Linked DNA regions of Homo sapiens: region 1 is linked to region 2. Evidence: promoter capture Hi-C in human tissues and cell types (Jung and others, 2019). All regions are on one chromosome and are shown on one strand. Each heading gives the region's core, a stretch centred on a gene start or on the middle of the fragment in contact. The rest is flanking DNA. Distances are from core to core; before and after follow the strand shown.

What was found. The method cuts DNA at HindIII sites, captures the fragments that hold promoters and counts their contacts. A contact is called where the count stands out against the background at its distance.
Region 1: a fragment that was not itself captured here is called in contact with the fragment with the promoter of MED27 in region 2 in 1 of the 25 tissues and cell types used here (dorsolateral prefrontal cortex).

The regions. Positions count from the first base shown.
Region 1 is chr9:132,031,007-132,034,374 of GRCh38, forward strand. All of the region lies in intron 2 of MED27 (mediator complex subunit 27), which reads right to left. Among named protein-coding and RNA genes, the nearest start is that of MED27, 47 kb to the right of the region's middle. The HindIII fragment of the contact is 4,380 bases long and covers 1-3,368 here.
Region 2 is chr9:132,078,138-132,081,360 of GRCh38, forward strand. It overlaps MED27 (mediator complex subunit 27), which reads right to left and starts at 1,730. Exons shown (of 8, transcript NM_004269.4): 1 at 1,505-1,730. The coding sequence starts at 1,707. RefSeq lists an enhancer at 1,627-1,906. The HindIII fragment of the contact is 14,332 bases long and covers 1-3,223 here.

The DNA.
Region 1 (3,368 bases), core at 580-3,079, 47 kb before region 2:
AGTCGATTTTTAAAAAGCAAGCTGAACTGCACTGCAGAATTTCCAAAGACTGAGGAAGTGGGGACACTCGGTGGCCTGGAAGGCCAGGTGTCAAGTAGGCATAAAACAGATGGACTGGTTAAATCTTTCTTGAACACCCAGATCCCTGCTCCATCAGAAGCCAGGTGGTGTCCTCTCTGGAGAGGCTGTCCTAGAGGCTCAGGGTTTAGGGACAGCTGAAAACAGGTGGATAAATCTGCACACTAAATGGTGAGCTACCCTCTACCTCAGCCTTCACCAACAGAAATAGCAATCACAGTATCCTACATGTCTCCACTATAAAAAACATTTCATAGTCATAATAATGTAAAAACCAAGTATCAATTAAAGCAATGCAGTGGGAAGATGGTGGTCTATAAAAGTTAAATCTTCATCTTCCATGGCAGAGGCAACAGATAACTTCTAAAACAGCAGTCTAAGCAGGTTATTTAGGAAAATGTGGGCAAGTATCCAAGGAAAGAGCTAAAAGAGTTAAGAGAAGCCAGGTATGGTGGGGCACACCTGAGTCCCAGCTATTCAGAGAGGTTGAAGTGGGAGATCACTTGAGCCCAGGAGTTACAGTCCAGCCTGACCCCTCCTCTAAAAAAAATAAACAATGAAATACAGACTTAAAAGGAGTTGCCTCTGAGGAGTGGCATAGCAGAGTTGGGCAAGACCAACACATCTGGTATAAATCTTGTAGTATTATTTATTTGCCTTTTAAACTACGTACTTATGTTCCTTGGATGAAAATAAAAACTATACCAGGAAAAAAAAAACAGGGCCTCAAAGTTAAACAGATCCTGAAAATGGAAGCCCCTACACACTACAAAATGTGCTTTATCACCTGGTGACTATTAGTTTACTATAGTAACACTTAATTTTATTTCAAGTTTTACTGCCACAGTTAAAGGTTTTTACAATAGCAGATGCCTTCCCTCCCACACATCAATTAATTTGCAAATTCACTCAAGGTTGTAGAAATAATGAGGTGTGGAGAGAGTTCGTTCCACTGGTGGGCACTGCCATCAGAAGGTGGATGTGGTAGGCGAGGCGCTAAGCTTGGCCGCTGCTAGCTGCATGCCATGGGAGCCTGGGCACGGGGGACGGCTCTGCCACAAGCCCACGAGCCGAGCCCACCTTGGCTGCAAATAAAGATAAAGAACGTAATGCCAACCACCTTGAAAGCTGAAAAACCATAGAAAAATTAGACAGGCAAGGCATTTTAAGTCTCATGAAATAAAATCATGTTTTTAGGCTCCTTTTTATAGGTTCTTATTTGGTGTTTACCGAGAAAGTGAACTTTTTGAGAAGAAATGATGTGGCACTCTGAATGCAACTCTGGTCTGTACTTTGGCAAAACCACCTGTCAAGCCCACACATTTGATTTTTTTTTCTTCTTTCTGAAAGAGCTGAAGTAAACCACTGTTGTTTCAAAACACAGGGGTTGAAAATAGTTACACAGTTTCTGCTCTGCCAAAGAACTGTCTCTTTTCTCATTTTCACTTAAATCTTGTTCTTTAATGACCTAAATGATAAGAGGAACAAGAAGACACATTTTCATTTGCACCTAAGCAAATAGGATTGTAACAGAATGTGTTCGTTCCCAAATGTAGCTCTTAACTAACTTGAGGGGTTGACAGGTCCCAGGAGGCAGAGCCAGTCAGGAAGGAATGCAGAATGCCACAGATCACCAGGGCCCACTTCCTGCTTCCACTGGCTTTAAGTGATGGCTCTTGTCACCTAGCCACTCTCTTGGCCTCCCCTGCCCCTCCCTCTCACAGCCCTGCGCCCAAGCCACTCTTCTCATGGGGATCACCTAGTCCCGCGCTCCACACTAAGCCTCTCTCTAGGTCTATAATAAATTGTCTGAGTGTGAATAAGCATTTCAAAAGGCTTCCTGCTTTGAGAATTCACCTTTCCAACAAATTTAATAGGTGTCTACAACAGCCTGACAGGTAGCAACATTTTTTCTTATCCACAATTGGTCTGAACCAAAAGTAAAATATCACTCAAATATTTTTCCTACCCCGCCAGCTAAAAGCAGCCCCATACATGCTGTTTGTGTCTCTAAACATATCACTCTATTAAGAACGCCTGTCATAGTCTCTGGATTTTGAGGACAATAATTTTCTTTACACAATTATGAAGGCAATCCAAAGCTCCCCTGACATTTTCTGACCTGGTATTGTCTGTAAAGGGCACAGGTTAACAATGTTTAAGAAAAGATCACATACAATATATAAATCACGAAGCTTCCTGGGACATTGTATGGTCCGAGGCTTCGGATTCAATACCACATTACCAAGAAAGAAACTGCTTTTCTTTTCACTTACACTCCATACTGGGCTCAAAAAGCACCATTAAAATGCCAACAAAGGCATTTTTGGATCTACAATCATTTGACATTTTTTTCTAAGAAAATTTAAATTTGAAAAACTTTGGTAAATTTAGAGTCTTGTGAAGTACCACCCGCCTCCCCTTTCACTCCCCTAAAAAGGGCAAGAAAATTCATCATCAAAGGTTACCTCTCCATCGAATGTCATCAGAGTGTGGTATTTCAGCACATACATTTGTGTATATAAACTTCCAACTGTTCTGAGATCTCTGCCATTATTGGCATAACTGGATGAGTTAATAACGGAATGCTGCCTTCCTAAACTCCGGTGTGGATTTGGGCTTTTTGTTTTTGCTTTTGTCAGTGTAACTTAGATCTTTGGTGTTCTGTGTGTCTCCAGATTCTATTTCGCATAAAGGTAAGAGGAAGCCACTTTCTTTCCTTTCTCCACCTCCCTAACACAAGAATCCAAGGACATTCATAACTTGGTTATTAAAAATACACTATTTGTATTTTGAAAGTTCAACCATAATGTATTCCCTTCTTTAAAAATTTTATAGTATCTACACTTTCAATTTGAGATTTTTCATTCATGCCAGGTGAGGCTCTTATGTTCTGTATTAAATGCGAGGCATGTGTGATCAGTACTATTAATAATATAACAGTGCCAATCTCAGAAGCAGCAACACAGCACCAATACAGCCCCGTATGAATAGATGAGGAGTCATGAGTACCGCTGCAATCTTTATTAAACATATGGGAATAAAGAATGTGGCTTACTGCTCTCCCCCTCCCCCAGCTCAAGAATCAAGAGGAATTTTTCCTCTCTTCCCCAAAGGCATAACATATCATTAGGTCTCATAAATATAAACAGATCTGAAGCAGAAAACAAGTGATTACCTTTATTAGATTCAAGGGAGCAAAGAAAGAGGAGTTTAAAAGTGTCCATGGACAAATAAAGATCATAAATTCATCAAAGTATGTCAGACTCAAGGACTGAGGGTCACTAAAG
Region 2 (3,223 bases), core at 480-2,979:
ACACACTTCAGTCTAGCAGGAAAACCCTAGAGAAGCTTGGGAAAGCGAGCCAACAAGAGCACATTCCAGGAGTACGTTCTGAGGGGCCAGTCCCAAACTGCCAACAAAAGACTCTCTAGGAACAGCTTCTTATGCCACATTCATTTTGGAATCATCAGCCACCTTCTTCTTGGCACTACTGTACAAAGATTTAAGAAGGCAAAAGGATAATGTCAGCACTCTTAAAGTTTCTATTTAAAATGGTGAAGGGTTATAATATCCTGAACATTACAAAGGGAAGTAACTCGGAGAGAAAATGGAAAGAAAACAGAAGATAGGGAAGAATAGCCAGTGCATCCCCTGAAGCAGAGAAAGTATTAACTGGTGCTCGGCGCGGTGCCAGAGAACAGCAAGCGGATGTGGGCGTTGAGGAGGGCTGTGTGATTTACGGCAACTACTTAGGGGGAAAACAAAAAGGCACCCATCATTTGGCCACCTCCTCCTCCTCCTCCTCCATCCTACCTCCTCTTTCCATCTGGTTACTAAGGAGACCAAGTTGAAAAAACAAAAATCCAACCAGTCCAGAAATCAAAGGATGACTAGCTCACCAAATGCTTTCCCCTACTCAGGTCAGTTCTGAGAAGTAAAAGGCAAAAATCCTGAAATTCTAACCTTCCTGGGAAGGACTGACTCTCTTATAAAACAGAAGGCAAGTTCAGGACCTAAGCAATCAAGAAGTGCCTACTATGTGCCAGGCCCTTTACAAACATCCTCTCATTTAATTCTTACAACACTTAAAAAGTGTAAGTGAAGAAGGTACTTTGTAAGGAAGAGGAGGAAAAGTGGAATCCTTAACCCTAAAAGACTACAAATTAAGAAGCAGGGGCGTTAAGCATAAGTAATTAAACTGGTTAAGAGATTAGAGAGTAGGTCTCTACTGCGGAAGGAACTCCCACAGGAGTGGGAGTGAGGAAACTGATCAGGTGGTTTGGGAGCGGTTAGGGGAAAAGGTGAAGACAGCTCAAGGCCTGGCCGGTCCGTCGTGGTTGCGGGTGGGTGGTGGTGGAACTGATGAAGTCCAAGTTCAGGGCCGGGGAATTGGGGCTAATCAGATCGGGTGCACTTGGGTTTGGAGCCGACTGACCAGGTCCTGTCTGTACTATTACTACATTCGGATCAGACGTGATGGGGCACAGAGGGCCTACAGGTGAGAAACCTGCCAAGCTCAGAGAAGTGGAAGTTCATGGGAAAAGCATGCCTCCTTGTTAGGAATGGAACCGCCACAGAAGAGGTCGAGGATGGCGGAAGACAAACAGGACCAGGAGGCCAGGAGAAGCAAGACGAGAAAGCGGGGATGGTGTTAAGATGTCCCTGAGGGACAGGCAGAGGCTTGGAGAACAAGAAGAGAAAGAACAGGGATCAAGGGAAACGGAGAACAGCCCCTGCCTGGGAAGACTCGAGCGACGTAGGGGCAGGGTCGGAGCGGGGCCGGTCCCCGACCCCGGCCCCTTCAGCCGGTACCTACTTGAGGTCCCGGTTGACCGAATGTAAGTTGTCCTGGAAGTGCGCAATAAAGGCCTTCTCCCGGCCCTCCAGCGTCTCCTTGTTCCGCATCCCATCCTTCAGGCAGTCGAACACCCTGCTCACGCTGGAGCGCAGCGCCTGGATGGCACTAATGGCCTGGGAAAAGGCCTCCAGGTTCACACTGACATTTATCACGTCCGCCATGTTGCCGCCGCCACAGCAGCTCTCCAAAGCCGGCTTCGCAAGCAAAAAAGCCGCGCTCGCTGATGACGTATCTCCGAAGACCTCTGGGAAATGCAGTTCGCGCGGGGCTACCCAGAAAGCACTTTCGAAAAAGGGTTTCCCCTTGAGCTAAACTAATGCATGGGCAGGAAAGTGATTTTTCTCAACTTGGGGAAGTCAGGTTGCACTCCCGGTTTGCTTAATGGTGACAAAGAAATACAGAAAGTTCCCGCATTTCCCCAAACTTGCACTCTGGGGAATCATAGGGAAAAGAATTGCTCAGAGCAATAGTGTAAAAAGGAAAGGAACATAGCCCATTCAATAAAATGAGTCCATATTCATAAATAAAGCGGGGAGAAGGAAAGTTTCTTCTTTCCAATAGAATGCCAGCTCATAAATGCAGAAAGAGTGATGGAATTAGAAAATTGCCATTTGACAGCCATTAGAATAATTGATTCAGATAGAAATCGATGGATGCTAAAACTAGTGGGTGAAAGTGTCAGAAAAATAACAGGCTTTTTAGGTAATCTCAAAGTATCGTCCCCCAAGATGCTTATTAATTAAGAAGAGGAAAATAATGATCCAGAGATTCCACTTCTGGGCATATACCCAAAAGAAGCGAAAGCAGGGACTCAATACCTGTACACATGTTCATAACAGCATTATTCACCAAATAGCCAAAAGGCAGGGGAAACCCAAGTGTCCATAAACTGATGAATAAACAAAGTGTGATACTGGCATACAATGAAAAATTCTTCAGGCTTAAGCAAGAAAATTCTGACATATGCTACCTGGAGGAAACTTGAAGACATTATGCTAAGTGAAATAAGCCAGTCACAAAAAAACAAAATTCTGTGTGACTCCACTTATATGAGGTGTTTAGGGTAGTCAAAATGTTAGAGACAGAAAGTAGAATGGTGGCTGGTTTACAGTGAACACACACCTCTGAAAATAACATACATAGCATAGAGGTTGTGGAAGAAAGAGAAGGTTTGGGATTTAAATAAAACCAACAAAATGTTGGCCAAATCTGGCTTTATGGAAAAATTCAATGTCTCTTTGTCCTGTTGGCTATAGACAGGTTTCTGAAAATTTATTATCTTTTTACTAAAGGGAACCTGCCCAAGTCCTCATGTTCTTTCCTTAGAGGAGCTGGGGTTGCATAGCTTGGAGCAGAGAAGAGGAGAGCAGGAGGCAGATCATGATTGTGACCTTCAACTCACCTTCATGTCAACCCAAGACAAGAGTCCTCCTTGGTTAACTAGTGGCAATAACAATAACCAGTTGTAGGAAGGCTGTAGAGAGGAAGATTTCAGCATAATATTGCAAAGGGCCATATTTAAGTCTGTACTTAAAGAGTACAGACTTGGAAAAGTTTTACAGCTGGATGGTGGTGATGGCCATACAACAATGTGATTGTACTTAATGCCACAGAACTGGACACTTAGAAACAGTGAAAATGGTTGATTTTATATTATGTATATTTTACCAAAAAATT